Regions from separate parts of the Homo sapiens genome. Here region 2 is linked to region 1. Evidence: promoter capture Hi-C in human tissues and cell types (Jung and others, 2019). All regions are on one chromosome and are shown on one strand. Each heading gives the region's core, a stretch centred on a gene start or on the middle of the fragment in contact. The rest is flanking DNA. Distances are from core to core; before and after follow the strand shown.

Evidence for each region. The method cuts DNA at HindIII sites, captures the fragments that hold promoters and counts their contacts. A contact is called where the count stands out against the background at its distance.
Region 2: a contact is called between a fragment that was not itself captured here and the fragment with the promoter of LCE3D in region 1, in 2 of the 25 tissues and cell types used here (lymphoblastoid cells and neural progenitor cells).

Annotation. Positions count from the first base shown.
Region 1 is chr1:152,577,860-152,582,237 of GRCh38, forward strand. It overlaps LCE3D (late cornified envelope 3D), which reads right to left and starts at 2,657. Exons shown (of 2, transcript NM_032563.2): 1 at 2,610-2,657; 2 at 1,522-2,098. The coding sequence starts at 2,077. The coding sequence ends at 1,799. The HindIII fragment of the contact is 3,963 bases long and covers 1,461-4,378 here.
Region 2 is chr1:152,638,028-152,642,405 of GRCh38, forward strand. No RefSeq gene overlaps it. Among named protein-coding and RNA genes, the nearest start is that of LINC00302, 15 kb to the right of the region's middle. The HindIII fragment of the contact is 5,806 bases long and covers 1-4,378 here.

The DNA of each region.
Region 1 (4,378 bases), core at 1,407-3,906:
AGAAAAATTTTTAAAAAGTTTTATTGAAGTTATGAGTCACATAGTTGGGCTCTTAGCTCTGCAGATTTAAAAAAATCAAACAAAAATAAAAACAAAACACGAAGTTAAACAGGACAAAATAAATGTAAAGTAGAAAATACTAATTGTTTCTAAAGATCTCTTGAAAAGTCTCCAGGGAGGGACAAGTGGCATCAGCGAGGATCACGGACTTATTGGCTGGGTCCTGTGCAGAACTGTTGGACCCACAATTTCCCTGTTTGTAAAATATGGTTATTAAGAGCACCTGGCTTATCGAGTTAGAAAATTAAATGAGTTCATAGTAGTCACTTAGGGTTTTCTAGCACCTAATAAGCAAATAAGTTTTTGATCTTACAATTATTCTAATTTATAAGCCTAGCAATACTTCTCATTTTCTCTCTTCCTTTATCTTAATGGTCTCAGTCCACACCTTCCACATTACTACATTCCCTAAGCTCTCAGCTCCATTTCTCCCCTGACCCAGGACTTCTTAAGCTTTAATTAATTCTACTCCCTCCACCTTCTCTCTCTGAAGATTTAATTGTGTATGTGGAGTTATCTGTTTTTCCTGAGACCAGCTTTTTCTTTTTTCTTTTCTTTTCTTTCTTTTCTTTTTGAAATGGAGTTTCACTCTTGTTGCCCAGGCTGGAGTGCAGTGGTACAACAGGCTCACTGCAACCTCTGCCTCCCAGGTTCAAGCAATTCTCCTGCCTCAGCCTCCTGAGTAGCTGGGATTACAGGCATCTGCCACTATGCCAAGCTATTTTTTTTTTTTGTATTTTTAGTAGAGACTAACCATATAACATGTGGTTTCATCATGTTGGTCAGGCAGTCTCAAACTCCTGACCTCAGGTAATCCACTTGCCTCAGCCTCCCAAAGTGCTAGGATTACAGACAGCTGAGGCCATGTTTTTCTTTACCCATCTTTTAATTGTAGTCTAAAGGTTTTCAGCCTTGCAATTATTGGACTTCTTGGGGCAGATAATTCTCCACTGTGGGGCTGTTCTATGCTTAGTAGGAGGCTTAGCTGCATCCCTGGCCTCTACCCACTAGATGCCAGAAATTCTCTTTCTACCTCTAAGTTTTGACAACAAAAAATGTCCCTTGGAGAGTCAAATTTACCCCTTTAGAAGAAATGCTAATTCTGCCTATTTTTTTGATAATTGCCTGCTACATCTTCACTGTTTTGTAATAGAGATGTCAGAAACATCTAGTAGCTAGCTCCTCCTACGACTGGGGAGTCCATTATGAGAGGACAATCACATTTCAGTCATTCTTTTCTGACAGTTAGAGGCCTCACTACAACCCCTCTCATCACATCCTGTCCCCCACTGCCGCACAATTCCAGCAGAAAAGGACTCGACAGATTCCTGAATTTTGCAGACCTAGAGCTAGAATTCTGCATCTTCCCTGTGGTGGTGCTGGATGTCAGGGGCAGACAGGAGGGCACACTTCCAGCCCCACCTAGGGAGAGACAGAGTGAAATGCCAAGGGAGACACCAGTGGTAATGAGGACAAGGAGCTTTATTTTTTGATGAGGTCAGGCACAAGCACTGCCAATCCTTCACAGGTACAGGGGTAAGGGAACATGTGACATCCTGGACATCAGACAGGAAGTGCCTTCTGGGGAGAGCTCAGACCTTCCACAGGAAAACCCCTAGCTCAGCCTGTGAAAGCCAGAAGAGGGTATCTGGGAACTCATGCATCAAGATGGGGTTTTCCTGGGCCCTTGGGATTCTTGTTTCCTCCAAAATCGCTTGTCTCAGCATCAGGATCCAGGTCAGCAGCAGCCTCCAGAGCCATGGCCGCAGCCAGAGCCCCCGCCTTGCTGACCACTGCCCCTGTCACAGGAGTTGGGCCTCTGGCGCCGGCATCGGTGGTGGCGCCTGTGGTGGTTCAGGAAGCAGCCGCCCTCGGAGCTAGGGCCACAGCCCCCAGAGCTTGGGGCACAGCCAGAGGAAGCTGGAGGCAGACACTGTACTGGGCTCTTTGGGGGACACTTGGGTGAGGGACACTTGGGTGGGGGTTGGCACTGCTGCTGGTTCTGCTGGCAGGACATCTTGGCAGGAGTTGAGTTGTCCTGGACAAAACAAAGCCATTTGTTAGTCCAAAATCTACAGTCCAATGTCTCTAAGACCAGCGGCCTCCTGAGGCAAGAGCTGCAGGAAGGTGAGGGAAGCTGATGTGGAGTTGGTGGGACATGCCAGATGCCTCTCACTTTGTTCTCCACCAGGGACAGATTGCTGTGAGTCTAAGTGGGCATCCATGTTTCTGTTTCTCCAAAGAGCCTCTAGGAATGTACCCTTTTGACAAAAGGCATTCTGGAGAATGGAGATCATAGGAAACATGTGCCAGCCTGAGTAGAAAGAGGATGGGAAGGAATCATAAGCTTCTGTGGCCTTTGCAGGTCATGGAATTGCTGTCAGTTCCTGCAGGGTCTCCCTCCTGGCCCCAGTTCCCACATTGGTACCCTCTCTGCCATCCTCTCTCCGGGCTTTTGTTTCAGATCTCTCCATTTCCCTCTCCTGCTATGACCTTAGTTTTCTGTTCCAACATCCCAAGTTGAGTCCCATCCCCTGCTGGACACTCACCAGGTGCAGAGGAGGCAGGAGAAGGCTGTTCCTGAGGAGACGGTGGATGAGGAGCCCAGGGCAGGAGTGCTTTTATCTTGTGCACGGTGTGTGATGCACAGCCTGGGCATGCTGCTGCTTTCACAACCAGGGGAGGTGTCAACAAGGCACACGCCCAAGACTAGGTTTGTAGCTTTGGCACTTCCATAATATCCAACCAATGACATTGAACCTGGAAGCAGGATCACTGTCCACATACCTCTCACCTGGGAGGCTACCACTGCTTCTTTTCTTCCTCCCTTCTTCCTTGTTTCAACTCACGTGCTGTGGAGCACAGTCTGTCCTTTACAATTTCCTGGGAATTAGTATGACATAATTCTTTCTTGAGTCATGACTGGAGAAATAATAGTCATTTCAACAAATAGAGATGAAATAATTGGACGTCCATATGTAAAAGAAATCATACCTAATGCTAGATATAAAAATTAATAGATCATAATTTAAAAAATTAAACTATGAAACTTCTGCAATAAAACATAATAAATCTTTGTGACTTTGGGTTATGCAAAATTTTTCAGATATGCCAAAAAGGTACAATTCAAAAAAGAAATATAGGACTTCATCAAAATTAAAAACTTCTGCTTTTCAAAAGGCACTGCTAGGCAAATGCAAAGAAAATTCACAGACTTGGAGACAATATTGTAAAACACAAATCTTACCAAGGACTTGGTTCAAGAATTTTTTTTTTATTTTTATTTTTTGAGACGGAGTCTTGCTCTGTCGTCCAGACTGAAGTGCAGTGGCGCGATCTTGGCTCACTGCAAGCTCTGCCTCCCGGGTTCTCGCCATTCTCCCTGCTCAGCCTCCCAAGCAGCTGGGTCTACAGGCGCCTGCCACCACACCCAGCTAATTTTTTTGTATTTTTAGTAGAGATGGGGTTTCACTGTGTTAGCCAGGATGGTCTCTATCTCCTGACCTGTGATCCACCCGCCTCGGCCTCCCAAAGTGGTGGGATTACAGAGCCACTGTGCCCGGCCAATGTTTTTTAAATTCTCAAAAATAGGTAATAACACAGAAAATATGGGCAAAGTATTTGAAGAGTCATTTTAACAAAGAAGATATATGGGTGGCAGTTAAGCACATGAAAAGATACTCAACCTAATCAGTCATTAGAGAAATGCAATTTAAAAGCAAAGTGAGATACCACTCTATACACATTGGAATGGCTAAAATGAAATAAATGACAATATCAAGTAATATGAGGGATGTAGAACAACAAGAAGCCCAAGTCATTGCTGGTAGAAATGCAAAATTACATTAGTTGGCAGTCTATCAAAAAAATTAAACATACAACTTACAATTTGCCCCAGAAATCCTATTCTTAGATATTTAGCCAAAAGAAATATAGTTGTATGTTCACAGAAAAACCTGTAGCCCAACATTTATAGTGGCTTTATTCATAACTGCCCTGAATTTGAAGAACCCCACAAGATCTTCAACTGATGAATAGAGTTTTAAAAATGGTATATTTATGCAATGGAAGGCTACTTAGCAATAAAAAAGGAATCAACTACTGATATATAAAACAACAGGGATGAATCTCAAATGCAAAAGAAGTCAGACTTTACATACTACATATTATATAATTTTAATTATAGGGCATTCTTGAAAAGGCAAAATTATAAGAACTGAAAATAGGTCAGTGGTTGCCAAGGGCTGGTATGAGGGAGAGGCTGATTTAATAAGCAGATGAGGGAATATTTTGAGGTGATAGAACTGTTGTATGTCTT
Region 2 (4,378 bases), core at 1,370-3,869, 60 kb after region 1:
TTAACAGTATGGATTAATTTTGCTTGTTTTCAAACTTTATAGAAATGAAACCATATGCTAAGTGCTCTTTTGCATCTGGTTTCTTTGCTCAGCATTATGTTTATGAGACTCATCCATAGTATTGTGTGAAGTTATAGTTTGTCAATTTTCATAGTGATATAGTATTTAATTGGGTAAGCATTCCACACTTAATTCTCTGATTAAAGGACATTTGGTTAGGTTTCAGTTTTTTGTTTGTTACAAGTAGTTCTGCCATGACCATTCTTATATATGCCTTCGGTACATATACGTGTGGATTTTGGAGGATTATATTTGGGGAATAGGTCACAAGTTGTGCATATGCTCAGTTTTACTAGATACTACCAAGTAATTTTTTAAAAAGTCTGTATGAGAGTTATTGCTCTGTATTCTTGGAAGTCCTTGGCATCATTTGTGTCATCATGTTACCCATTCTTAGTGTTTGTCTCAATGGCAGTGAAAGTCTGCCTCGTGTCTGTGATGGGTCTTGGGCAGCAGAGAGGTGGTGTAGGCTGTTATCATTGAGAAGGTACTCTTATTAACCAGCTCCCTTCAGTCCTACATAGACTATCTTGGGTTATCTTACTATATACTCCCACAGTCCACATTTTGTAGTAATTTCTTGCATAATTGGCTGCTTTAGCCATGAGTTTATTACCTCCATGAGGATAGAGACTAAAATTGTTTTGTTTTTCTGCTATAGTTTAAATGTCCCCTCCAACACTCATGTTGCAATTTGGTTGCCATTGTAACAGTGTTGAAAATTTGGGCCTTTCAGAGGTGATTGGGCCATGAGGGCTCCACCATCATGAGTGGATTAGTGCTGTTGTCATGGGAGTGGGCTAGTTGTTGCAGGAGTGGGTTCCTGATAAAGGAATAAATTCAGTCCCCATTTTCTCTCTGTCTCATATATTCACTTGGCCTTCTGCCTTCTGCCTTCTGCCACAGAATAACCCTTACCAGATACTAGCACCATGCTCTTGGACTTCCCAGCCTCCAGAACTGTAAGCCAAATAAACTATTGTGTTTAAATTATCCAGTCTTTTTTTTCCTAACTTTTATTTTAGGTTTAGGAGTACATGTGCAGGATTGTTATATAGCCAAATTGCATGTTGTGGGGGTTTGGTGTACAGATTATTTAGTCACCCAGGTGATAAGTATAGTAGCTGAGAGGTACTTTTTTTGATTCTCTCTCTTCTCCCAGTCTCCATCCTCAAGTAGGCTCTGGTGTCTGTTGTTGCCCTCTTTGCATCCGTGTGTTCTCATTGTTTAGCTCCCACTTACAAGTGAGACATAAAAAAAATTAACTAGTGTTTGGTACTCTGTCATGGCAGCAGAAAATAGACTAAGAAATCACTTAATAGTTTCTGGCATAAATTTGGCACTCAATAAATAACTGGTCAATGAATAAATGGATGAGCTTTTGTTGTGCCTCCCCCCCAAAAAAATTTTAGAAATATATTTACTATTTAAAGAGCTTCCCCCTTACGTTGATGATATTTAACATGACAAAGGTGATGATACTGACAAAAACCCCATGTCTAGGTGACATCTTATGATGTGGTTGTGGGGTTAGAGTGTTTAATTGGCATTCTTAACCATAGAAATGTCCACATTCCTTTATATCTTTCTATTTTTTTTGCCCCAACAGCAAAACACTAACAATTAGTATGAGCGTCTTCCATATATGGGTCCACTGTATGTTACTGGAGAGAAGCTTTTGAAGGGATTCATGGCAACCAGTTGACCAATCAGCATATCTTCTCCTTGGCTCTGTACTCAGGTCTGTGCTAGAGCTGGGTGACAGAGACAGTTTAATAGGTCTTGATTTCTGCCCTCAATGAGCTTTGACTAATTGGAGGCAGTAAATTTTTATTTAATTAAAATTAAAAGGGAGGAAGGTTTTCAAGGCCCAAAGATAGCATGAGTTTGTGCCTGAAGGCAGTAGGATGAAAGGTGTGCTCTGGTACCAATAAGCAGGGGTGTCAATAGTACTATCTGGGTGGCAGGATATGTGGGGATGATTATTAATCTATTCTTTCTATATCCCCATAGTTTCCAAACTATTTTTACAATTTTAAAGTTGATTGAAAAAGAATCCTAAATGGTTACTGTTGCAGTATGGAAGGTTTTTTTTTTTTCTTTTTGGTTGGGGTAAGCTATAGGCAGAATGGCCACCCAACCAGTTATTTTTCTAGTACAGGAGATAGGCAAAGGCCAGTCTGTGGCATGTGCAGTGGCATAGGGAGGAGCAGATAGCTGTATAACATGCAGAGCCACTCTGTTATCGAATCTCAGCCCAATCTGGGTCTGGAATTTTCTCTACATAGACTCTTCTCAGTTTGACACTAGGGAAAGTTGTCTTTATTTCCCTGTTGGTACTTGAGCTATTTCCCCAACATTTTCCTGAGTCATAGGCCCTATCATGGCCAGAGGATTAAGCTTGGAAAGAAAACAGATATTCTGGTTAGATCTTGAGGGCTGTGGGTGTTCTAAAAATGTATTCTCAGCTCTCACCTGTTCTTGGCCCCTGGCAAGCAAGAAAAGCAACAAGGGTGATGGCCTTCAGCTGTGGCCTCCTGTGGTGGGTATGATTGTTGAGTAAGTCCAAATGGAAATGAGACATTGGTTCAGCTTCCTAGTCTAGACTTTCTGGCAACCCAGACTCACTTTTCACAGCAAAACACCAGCAGCAACAACGACAAATACAGGCTTCATTTTAGGACAGTCTCTGCTGTTAGCATGTTACATATATTAACCTGTTTAACTCACAACAGCTCTTCAAGGAAGACATTATTATTATCATTTTAGTAATCTCAGGCTCAGAGAGGTTCACACAGCTACTAAGTGGCAGGACTGGAATTCAAACCCCAGAAGTTTGGTTCAGAGTCTATGCTCTTAACCACCAGGTAATCGGCCAGACTAGACAGAGACACATAGGCATCTGGACAAACTCATTTTACGGGTAATTTCAATCTGGTATTGTGCAAATATATATTCAACACAGATTGAGAAGAGAGATTGAGCTCTGTAATAGGAGAAGGTTTAAACAAAAGGATGTTTCACCAGCTTGCAAAATAAAATTCTACAGTTAACTGGATTTACTCTACAGGCATATTTCGAAGATACTGTGAGTTCAGTTCCAGACCACTGCAATAAAGCAAATATTGCAATAAACCAAGTCAAACGAATTTTTTGTCTTCTCGGTGCATGTGAAAGTTATGTTCACACTATACTACAGTCTATTAAGTGTGCAATAGCATTAAATTTAAGAAATAATGAGGATATCTTAATTAAAAATACACCATAATGTGAGCCTTCATTGAGTTATAATATTTTTGCGGATGCAGGGTCTTGTCTTGATGGTCACTGATTGATCAGGGTGGTGGCTGCCGAAGGTGGGGTAGTTGTGACAATTTTCTGAAATAAGACAACAATGACATTTGCTGCATTGATTGACACTTCCTTTCACAAAAGATTTCTCTGTAGCATGTGATGCTGTTTGATAACATTTTACTTACAGTGGAACTGCTTTCAAAATTTGAGTCAATCCTCTCAAACCTTGCCGCTGCTTTATCACAAAGTTCATGTAATATTTTAAATCCTTTGTTGTCATTCAATAATGATCACAGTATCTTCACAGGAGTAGATTCCATGTCAAGAAACCACTTTCTTTGTTCATCCATAAGAAGCAGCTCCACATCCATTCAAATTTTGTCATAAGATTGCAGCAATTCAGTCCCATCTTCTGACTCCACTTGTATTTCTCTTCCTATGTCCATCACATATACAGTTACTTTCTCCGCTGAAGTCTTGAATCCCTCAAAGTCATCCATGAGGGTTGGAATCAACTTCTTCCAAACTCTTGTTTATGTTGATATTTTGACATTGTCCTATGAATCATGAATTTTCTTAATGGTATCTAGAATGGGGCATCCTTTCTAGAAGGTTTTCAATTGATTTAGCTCAGACACATCAGAGGAATCACTGTCTATGGTAGCTATAGCCTTACAAAATGTTTTTCTTATATAATAATGATGCTTAAAAACTGAAATTATGGCCAGGCTTGGTGGCTCACGCCTGTAATCCCAGCACTTTGGGAGGCCGAGGTGGGCAGATCAGGTCAGGAGATTGAGACCATCCTGGCTAACATGGTGAAACCCCATCTCTACTAAAAGAACAAAAAATTAGCTAGGCATGGTGGCGGGCGCCTGTAGTCCCAGCTACTCAGGAGGCTGAGGCAGGAGAATGGCGTGAGCCCAGGAGGTGGAGCTTGCAGTGAGCCAAGATCGCACCACTGCACTCCAGCCTGGGCAACAGTGCGAGTCTCTGTCTCAAGAAAAAAACAAAAACAAAAACA